Regions from separate parts of the Homo sapiens genome. Here region 1 is linked to region 2. The links are contacts of gene promoters, found by promoter capture Hi-C in human tissues and cell types (Jung and others, 2019). All regions are on one chromosome and are shown on one strand. Each heading gives the region's core, a stretch centred on a gene start or on the middle of the fragment in contact. The rest is flanking DNA. Distances are from core to core; before and after follow the strand shown. Region 1 has its middle 160 kb from the start of LINC02398. Region 2 holds the start of SLCO1C1 (solute carrier organic anion transporter family member 1C1).

Region 1 (5,163 bases), core at 755-3,254, 840 kb after region 2:
ATATACTAATTTAAGGTCTCTAAAATATTAAGGATATATATTGTATATAGGGGTTGAAATAAACAATATACTTTTAAATAATCCATGGGTCAACAAAAAAGCAATTTATATAAATAATACTTTCAACTAAATGATAATAAGACATATCAGAATTTGTGGGATGCAGCTATTAAAAATGTATAGCTTTGTAAGATTAATTTTAAAAAAGCACAAGTTATTACTATGAGTTATGAGAAAAGGAGACATCACTACAGAATCAACATAAAACGTAAAGAAATTACATTTACATGTTCTGTGGTGTCTATTACCACTTACTTCAACTATGGTATTCTATATTAAATAAAAGATACAGAAAGTACAGCCTGAGAAGTTTTATAAAGAAGTGCTTAGAGGGGGTAAACTGTTAGAAAAGGGGCCCTTGAGGGCTTGTCTTATGATTACATTTGCATAGTAATGCTCAGTTTTTATTTATGTGAATTTTTGTTTGGTATGGCCTAAACCTACATTTGCAGACCAAGAATTGTGCTTTTACTTAGAACATGTATTTATTTGAATGATGACAATTTGGAATGTGAAAAGCTTCCCTTCTGGCCACTCCCCTTTTCTCAACGTTTAAATTAATTTGTTCATGAGAGAGTTTCAAGCAAAGGCAAAAATAAAATCAAATAAAACAATTTGTAATGTTGTAATAATAATACTTTCATGAAATCAGCAGCTTTGCATGTTTTGTTATCTGCCACTAAAGTATCAAAGATAATAGTCATATGTAAATGTTTTTATTCCAATGCCTTTTAAAAAAAATAAGCACAAAAAAGGCAGGTGAATACATCATGAATTAAGCATGACCCCCTGTTATTGAAGCTCATTTACATCTATGGTTTCTACATGAGGTGTTATCATGGGGTCTGTGGTGAACTGAATAATAATAGCTCCCCAAATATATTCACATCCTAATTCCAGGCACCTGAAAACGTCATTTCATATGGCAAAATGGACTTTGCAGATGTGATCAAGATAAGGATCTTAAAATGAGAAGATTATCCTGGAGGACCTAGGTGGGCTTAACGTGATCACAGTGGTCCTCATAAGAGGTTCACAGAAGTGAGAGTCAGAGGGTGATGTGATGACAGAACAGAAACTGGAGCGATGTGCTTTGAAGATGGCAAAAAGAGGCCACAAACCAAGGAGTATAAGCAGCCATTAGAAGCGAAAAGGGCAAGAAAACAGATCTTCCCTTCAGAACATCCAGAAGTAATCAGCCCTGCTGACACCTTGATGTTATCCCAGTGAAAGTAATTTTGAACTTCTGACCTCCAGAAATGCCTAAGAGTAAACTCGTGTTGTTTTAAGCCATTACATTTGTGGTGATTTTTTTTATAGCAGATATAGGAAACTAATAGAGCATCCTAGTGAAATGGTTATCAAACCTGGTGCACAGCAGAATCTCACCTAGGCAGTCTGTGAAAAAAATACAGATCCTTGGATCCTATTCCTAAAAATTCTGATTCTCTGTATACCTGTGATGAGCCACAGGAATTCAAAATTGTTAAGAAGTTTCTCAGATGACTGTTGTGCTGCAAACCAGGTTACAAGTCAAAAGAAGGGTGCTTGGGAAGAATTCACTGCCTGAATTAGTTGCCTTGGGCTGCTATAACAAATTAACACAAACGTGAAGTCTCAAAACAACAGATATGTATTCTCTCACAATTCAGGAGACGAGAAGTCTGAAATCAGTTTCACAGAGTGAAAATCAAGGTGACCACAGGGCCATGTTCTCTGCAAAGGCTCCAAGTAAAAATTGTTCCTTTCCCTTCCAGTTTCTAGTGGTTGCCAGCATTCCTTGACTTGTGGCCACATGACGCCAGTCTCTGCCTCTGTGGTCCCATTGCCTCCTCTTTGTGTAGCAAATCTCCCTCTGCCTCTCTCTTATAAAGACACTTGTAATTGGAATTAGGGTACATCCAGTTACCAGGACAATATCCCCATCTCAAGATCTTTAGCTGAATCACCTCTACAATAACTCCTTTACTTTATAAGGTAACATTTGCAGGTTCCAGAAGTTGGGATCTGATATCTCAGCTTGACAATTATTCTTCCTAGTGTACTGCCTTAGTGCCCTTCAAGGTTATTTAGGGATTAAGACAGTAGAGCTGAAGAAACTTTCTATAATCTTTTTATATTCATATCCCTTCTGACCCTTTACAAATTACAATTATTCTACTAAAAAACAACCAGTCTCACTGGACTATTCTGTTGATTAATGAGGGTGATGATAAACAGGGAATATGGGGATTATTGGAAGAAGTAGGTTCCTAGAATTCAGTAGCATTTTTATTACAAGTTTCTATGCCCCTTTAAAAAACTGGCTTTTCATAAGGGTGTTCCTGAACATAAAAGTATTGCAACAAAGGAATCTTTATTAAAAATTTCTATCCCAGAGGAGTTTACTGCATGTGACTACAAACAGACTACAAGAAATGTTGGTTGGAAAGTTATTTTTTATGCAAAAGTACATTTCGAATTTAAATAAATCCAAGGTTCCTTTGCCCTCTTTTTTACCTCTAGGCAATCAAGAAATTTAGACTCTATGGTTCACTGACATGAGCATTCTTGTCCTGAGTGACTTTTTAAGGCTCTTCAGGTACATAATCCAGGAGAAAGATTAAACTCGAAGTCTAAGGAGGATACAACAAAATTCAGCCAGTGGCCAAAGAAATGTATATATTGTGGTGGTGATCCACAGAAATAATAATAAATAGTATAGATTTTATTTTCAAAAAAAAGTCCTCTTTCTTTCAGAAGGGCCAGTCCCCCATTCTAATATTTTTAACATCTCTGAAGAATAGGGCTTAAGGCCTTTCCCAACTGTAAAATGGTACCCTTTTCACAAATGTACAGTTTTATATCCTATTCTTTTAAAAAACATTTATAGCTCCTTTTACTATTCTCTACTGAAAATCTAAATAATTGTCCCCCTTAAAATACTTCATGGCATGGCTCTCAACAATCTAATTTTCATTTTAGCAGGCCATTATTCCCCCCTGAATAGCTTTTAGAAAGAAAAAAAATTTCTAATCTATCCCACCTGACACTGGCCACACTTTATTCTCTCTGTCCCTTTGATATTAAGGTGCATACCTTTGATATTCAGGCATTTGATAATGCCATGCCTGCATGGCATTATTCACTTGTCTTACTTCAGTTGGTAGAACGGGCTTCAAACTGGGCTCTGAGCTGATCTGCCAGTCTGCATCCTTTAAAATCCCCAGAGCAATAGGGAACAGTGTTGGCTAAGAACCACCTCAGCAGAATGACGTAGCAAGCTTGCAAAAATGCAGATTCCAAGGCACCGCCTTTGATTTACTAAATGTAATTTCTGGAAAAATAACTTGGGCGTTTTGCTTCATGCACTCTCTTCTGCTCATAAGCACCCAGGTTTTAATGGTTTGACGGCGCTATTCTGAAGGAATAAACTTGTCTGGGTTGGTGCCATGAAGTTAAGCAACATCTACAAGCCACTCAGTAACTGTGACATATCATCATTGCATTTTATTTATTTATTTATTTATTTTTAAATTTTTTTATTTTTTTTATTATTCTTATACTTTAAGTTTTAGGGTACATGTGCACAATGTGCAGGTTAGTTACATATGTATACATGTGCCATGCTGGTGTGCTGCACCCACTAACTCGTCATTTAGCATTAGGTATATCTCCTAATGCTATCCCTCCCCGCTCCCCCCCTCATCACTGCACTTTAAATGCTAACTCTATTTTTCATTCTTGAATTCCTGTCCAGTTTTATTCCTTCTTTTCAATCACCGTAACTTCATCATTTCCCAGAGAAATCCACTTCGTCATTTCCTGGAGAAATTCATCCTTACTCTTCGTTATTTCAGTGCCCAGTTTCATTTTCTAGAAACTTCTCCCTCATGTCCTTATCCCAGTCCAGTAAACCCTTCCAGAAAAACTAGGAGAGTGATCAGGCAAAGAAAAATCAAATTTCTAGAGGATATACTATTTGAAAACTTTGTTCTGACAAATGGAACAAGCAAAAGTAGCAATTTACCTGCTGTGAGCATATTTCAGACCAGAGAACTTAGCAGCAGGACCTAATTTCTCCTTGGTTAGCATAATAGAGAAAGCTAATTACAAGGGATTATTCTTAGGAAAGAAAAATCTAGTTCTGTGTTGTGTGACACAGAGAAACTCATTCTATCTGTAGAGATTTTGGTCGCTATAGCAACATGATAACAATTTAATCTTGTTCTGCTTTACTGAGAATAAACATTTTTTTCCAAAAGCCGTTTAATTTGTCCACCACAGACACAACTCTACACAAAATGCCATTGAAAGGAATACTTACCGTCCATGCTCGTCACACAAAAAAATACTGTAACCTCTTGAGCAAGACACTGAGAAAGAAAACCCAGTCATAACTGGGATAGAGAAGACAACTTTGCCTTAACACAAAGTAAAGCTGCTGCGTTCAAATGGTCTTGGTAAAGTGCTTCATGGCAGAATGTTGCTGGCCAATTTACATGGCATTTGGATTGAAGTTATATGCCATTTGGGGAAGATTACTATAATTAGAAAAATGGCCTAATTACTTTTCTGGCAACAGTGAAGAAAGAGAACAGACTCGTCGGCTTATAGAGACAAGTCCTTGAGAAACCTCAAAAGGTTTTGGGATCCTGTTTGACAGGAAAGAACATCTCATCTGAACCCCTTGGATCTGTTCAACAACCAAGCTAGAAAGCCAAAACCACAAGAGAGGAAGAAAGAGCAAGAAAAGAAAAATACTTCTTCCTATTGGATTTTGAAACAGAGCTGACAGAAATGCTCCTTTCCATGACATTGCAAAGCTTCATCTGCTGGCCCCTGTAAGATGCACAAACGGAAAAGAATGAAGTTGGGAGGGAAGAGTGGATTTTCACTGCAATGAGACTTGGAAGAAGGTTTCATGCTAGTGTTGTTTGATGGCTATGTCTGTTCTAACTGTAAATAATATGACAACATTCGAGATTGAGAGATTGAAAGAGTACCTCCTGTTATTTGAGGTTTCAAGTTAACATTTATGATATAAAAGGCAAAATCATACAAAATTCCTCTTTTCCTGTGCTGAGGGAGAGAGACACTGCTGCACTGAATCAAATACCCATT
Region 2 (5,229 bases), core at 535-3,034:
CAAAGAGAAAAAATAATTATGTTAAAAACACTACTGAAAAACTTGAGATACTATAGCACATTTTAAGTTATCTAATATATGGAGGTGTTGACACAAAAATCACTGTAACTAAAATTCAAAAGTATAATGAAATATAAATATAGTCATCTCAGTTCACTTTGTGTTAGGGCAAAATAGGATCCAGCTTAAACTATTGGCACTGCATAGCTTTACTGAAGTGTCTTGATGGTTAATGCGCAAATTATTGCAAGTGTAGTATGTTCCAAGGAGGCTACAGTTCATCCCCTGTAAAAAGAGAGGGAAGGAAGCTCAATGACATGAACGGAAAGATCCTTGGGGCCTGCAGGCTCTCTCTCTTCATTTGCAACTGCAGAAGTAGAGCAAGAGTACACAGTTATTCAGAATTATTTGCATTTGGCAAATCCTTAATTGATCTCTGGCCACTTGAATAGATTCTTCCAGGAAAAGACATACGACAGTTTTCATCCAATACCCTGGGTTTGGAGCATAACTTATTCTGGAGGCCAAAGAAAAACAAGCCAAGCAGTTTCTCTTCCTTTGGTTCAAAAACATTGAATAATCAGTCCTCATTAGTTTCAAAATCAGCCCTCCAGATTTTAAATGGAGAGAGCAAGTGGCTTAGGAAGGTTGTAGTTAGATCCCGCAGATGTACTCAACCCCTCTGCTCTGCAACTGACTCGGACTCTGTCCAGCAATCAGTCCCCAAGGACTGCCACAGAGAAAGTCCTAAAGGCAACCACGCTCCTCCCTCTCTTCTCTTGGCCATCTCCTGTGAGGAAAACCTCTGTCCTGGCTTGACTTCTGGACACCAGGATGCCTCCCTTCAGACAAACTAAAAAATAGCCTCACGGCACTTGCTGCAGAGGAGTGTGTGTTGTTTAGAAACTAATTTCTCACCTAATACAAATTATCTGTGTCAGATTCAGATTTAATAAGTACTATTTTTGTGTTGAGTAATGTACGTACTTTTTCTAATCCTTAAAACAACCCAACAAACGTAATATTAGAATTCCATTTTTTAAATTAGATGGCCCAAAGCAATTAAGTGACTTGTCAAAAGCTAAACAATTTATAAGCATGAGACTCAAAATTTGAACTCAAATTTGAGTTTATCTGATTTCTTTAACCAATCTTCTCTCTTATTTCCATCAAACTAATGAGGGGATCATCACCTTTCACTGATATTTTTATGGATAAAACATAAATCGCACAGAAATTAAGGGTTAATCTCCCATAAGAATCTGATGTATTAGTCACAAAATATAAAATGAGAGAACCAAGTCTTACCTGGAGGAAGAGATCAAAGATAGCCAGTTCCTTTCAATGTGCTCAGCAAGAGGATGGACCACACACCACAGACTGAAAGAGGAAACTGAGGTAAACTCCACAGCAATTTTGAACAATTTTGCCAGGTGGGGAGAGTGTGGGTGGACACAAGCAGAGGAGATTAGGGAAAAGAAAAGATGAAGGGCATGGTCTCACCCCTGAGCGATCTCTTCTCTTTCCTCTTTCTTCCTGGCCTCTTTTTTCTGGCAGTCAGCAGAGAATTGGCCACGCTGGCAAGGCCACTGACGTGCATCTCAGCTCCCAGGGCACAGAAAGAGCTGAAGCTTTTGAGCCATTTCTTTGCAATTTGCTGCAAGTTTAAGGCCACACGTGATAAAGCTTTCTTTATGGGAGAGAGTGAATAAAAGAAAAGACCACTTGTGATCTTACTTGCTGATTCCCAGAAAACACAACTCCGCAGGGGGCAGAGGGTAAGGAACAGAAGCCAGAGGAGGGCGGAAGTTTATAACAGAGACCCCTCCTCCTTCCAGAAAGTTTTTAAGCCAACTATTCCTTAGGGACATCACTGGGATCCTTGTGTTTTCTTTGTTTGTGTGTTTTGGTTTTGGTTTGTTTTGTTTTGTCTTTAACGGTTCTTGGGCTAATTTGCTACATGGTTTTCTTTTCCATTGGTGTTCTAGAATCTTTAAGGACCAAGTATCAGGTCACAATCAAAGCTCTGCAGCGCTCTGTACAAAAAGAGTTAATTCTCAGAGACATGATCAGTTGCTCATATTTACAATTTCTATGAGTTTTGAAAACAGAAAAGAAACACGTTGAATTTTTGGCATTCAATTGTTTATTCTGCCTAATTCCAAGGATAAATAAATCCTTGCACTGAGAAAGTCCACAATTCTAATACATTCTTTTTCCAAGAGAAAAACTTTAGAGGATCTTAAGCAGTAGTAGTTTGCATTTATTTTCTACCAATAAATAAATTTGCTACCAGAATTATCCAAGATTCACCCTACTCTTAAGTGGCTGAGACTCTGGGATGGTCACTTAATTTTACTGAGTCTCAACTTCTTCCTTTGTAAAGCAGAATTTTTTTGTTTAAAAAAAAAAAAAACAGATTTATAGGGCTGTTTTAAGGATTAAATTATATAATGTATTCAAAAGCACATTGCAAATGAGCGGAAGGTATCATCATTTTATATATATATATATTTAGTTCACATAATGGTCAGAATAGTTAATATTATTCAAGCACATTTTACTACAAAAGAAAGAAAAGAAAATGCAAGAAAAATGGGTTTATATTAAACCTTGCAATGAAGCAATGGTGTTTTCACACTCTGAAAGGCCAAATATTTTACTTTAACAATCAAACCAGACTTTTCCATCGGAAATAGTGAGCAAACATCCGAATACATTGAGTGTTAGTCTAGACTTCTCAGTGTCTAACAGGTGGCCAGACCACTGTTTTATTCAAGAGGAGACAGTATTTACCAGCCCAAAGGGCATAATTTTCCTCACCAAGAAATGAAATTCTCCCTTGAGAATGTAATTTTGTCTATTCCCAACTGGCTCAGTCTCACTCTCCAACACGATTCCTTTTCTTATTTCCAGAGTCCACAGTTAATGTTACTGTTTTGAATGCACATAATGTTTACACTTATTCAGAGCTTCTTATGTGCAACCTTGCATTGGATTGTAGCCTACTTCAGCCTTTCATTCCCATTTCCAAACTCTAGATGAGGGAGTTAACAAACTTCTATAAAGGGACAAATAAGAAATATTTTAGGTTTTGTAGGACCATGCAATCTCTATCACAACCACTCACCTCTGCCATTCTGGTGGTAAATTAACCACAGACAACATATAAATGAATGCATTTCCTAAGACTGCACTAACAAAGTACTACAAGCTGAGTGACCTAAAACAGAACTTTATTGTCTCACACTTTTGGAGGCCAGAAGTCAAAAATCAAGGTGTCAGCAGAGCCATGCTCCCTCTGAGACCTGTAGGGAAGAATCCTCCTTACCTCTTCCACCTCCTGGTGTTTGCTGACAGCCTGAACTCCTTGTTTTATAGGTGTATCACTCCAACAGCTGCTTCTGTTACCACATGGCCATCTTCTCCCTTTATGTCTCTGTCCTCTGTACTTAAAAAAACGCTAGTCATCTTTGGCTGGGGACCACCCTCATGACCTCATCTTAACTTGATAAGGTCTGCTAAGACTCTCTTTTCAGGAAAGGTGACATTCACAGGTACCGGGGGTTAGGACTTCCTCATATCTTTTTGGGAGACACAATTCAAGCCAGTACACTCATATTTTCATTTTCCTCCTTACTTGAATTTTTTCATGCAATTATTTTAATCACTTCCTTCTGTATACCCTCAATTCTCCTGTTTCTCTTTCAATTTATTGATCTTCCCAGGCAAAGCTCACCTCAGATAAATCCACTTTCTTTCTTCTTAGTATTTGCATCCGCACTGTTTTAAGTGATTGAAGAACAACTCAGTAACATGCCCTTAGGGCTTATTTTATATTTATAACCACTAAACTCACTGAGTCATAGAGGCATTGCTAGACGTAATACTTTTTAATGACCCAATCACTTTACCTCTCTCAAATCTTCATTTCTGGCTGCACCCTGATTATTAGCTGATGATCTTGTCTAGGAAATTCACTAACTAAACAGAAATATCAGGAGAAATATTATACTCTGTCCTCATGACATCTACTCTCTACCCAAATGTACATTGCTATTAGCTGTCTTCCTTCTTGCTCCTACAGTCCATGTTTCTAAGCCCAAACTTTAGTCACATTCCTTGTATATATTTCCTCTCCTCCAGTTCATTTTTCACCAACTCTAATCAGGTTTTGCCTTTACCACTCCAATGCAAATATTTTCATCAAGAACATTAAAGGCATTCACACTAATAAATCCAGTGATCAATATCCAGACCTCATTTTAATTGATGTATTAGCAGAATTGTATGTCATTAATGTGCCCTTCTCTTTGATACATTTTATTCACTTGGTTTCACCACACACCCCTGGTTTTCCTCCTACTTCAGTGGTCATTTGCTCTTAGTCTTCATTGCTAGAATATTCCAAAATTCAGTCTGTGGAATATCTTCTTTGCTGTCTATATTTACTTCCTTAATGACCTTATCTGGTGTCATGGCTTTAAATATAATCTATAATATAAGATCCAATGAGGTTAGGGAATATTTTGTATACCCAAATTTGAGTTGAGTTTTTCAGTCTGGAAAAATGTATACATATATACAGGAGATATGTAGATACAGATATAGATATAGATAGATATAGATATCTACGTGTGTGTGTATTAGCTCTCTCCACTGAAAAGGTCTAGAAACAATGATCAACTAAGTAGTAATAAGTGCAACTAGCACCATAAATAAAAGCACCATGGATCCTTGATATGTGACTAATACCAGGTGTAAAGATATAAGATAGGCCTGGAATATCTTGTCATAAAAAAGAGCTGGGATGCCTTGAAGACTACATTGTGCCAATAGGATTCAGAAGCCAGCCTGAACAGGTTTCTGCTAATCAAATATAGGAAAGTTTGAGCATTGGTAAGAATAATTGTAATGGTTGAAACATATAAAATAGTAATGGTTGAAACATATAAAATCACAAAATTTATGAGTTAAAAACACTATTAAAACATCACATGGTCACTTTGGAGTAATTCTAAACACAACTTAAATATTAATAGATTTAAAACTAGTGGTATTTAGGGAGAAATTGTGTGTTTATCCTAGCTTTTCTATTCCATTCTTTCCTTAGAGTTATTACAGAGTAAAGACAAATTTCTCTTCATAGAATTCCAACTAATAAACAAAAAAGGATGAGAGAATAAGAATATTATAATTTTCTTTTCTTTCTTAGGGTAATTAATATTT

Evidence for each region. Contacts are between HindIII fragments. The study calls those that stand out against the background at their distance.
Region 1: a contact is called between a fragment that was not itself captured here and the fragment with the promoter of SLCO1C1 in region 2, in 4 of the 25 tissues and cell types used here (H1 embryonic stem cells, dorsolateral prefrontal cortex, liver and 1 more).

Annotation. Positions count from the first base shown.
Region 1 is chr12:19,855,727-19,860,889 of GRCh38, reverse strand. No RefSeq gene overlaps it. Among named protein-coding and RNA genes, the nearest start is that of LINC02398, 160 kb to the left of the region's middle. The HindIII fragment of the contact is 4,180 bases long and covers 1-4,094 here.
Region 2 is chr12:20,691,887-20,697,115 of GRCh38, reverse strand. It overlaps SLCO1C1 (solute carrier organic anion transporter family member 1C1), which reads right to left and starts at 1,784. Exons shown (of 15, transcript NM_017435.5): 1 at 1,309-1,784. The HindIII fragment of the contact is 14,433 bases long and covers 1-5,229 here.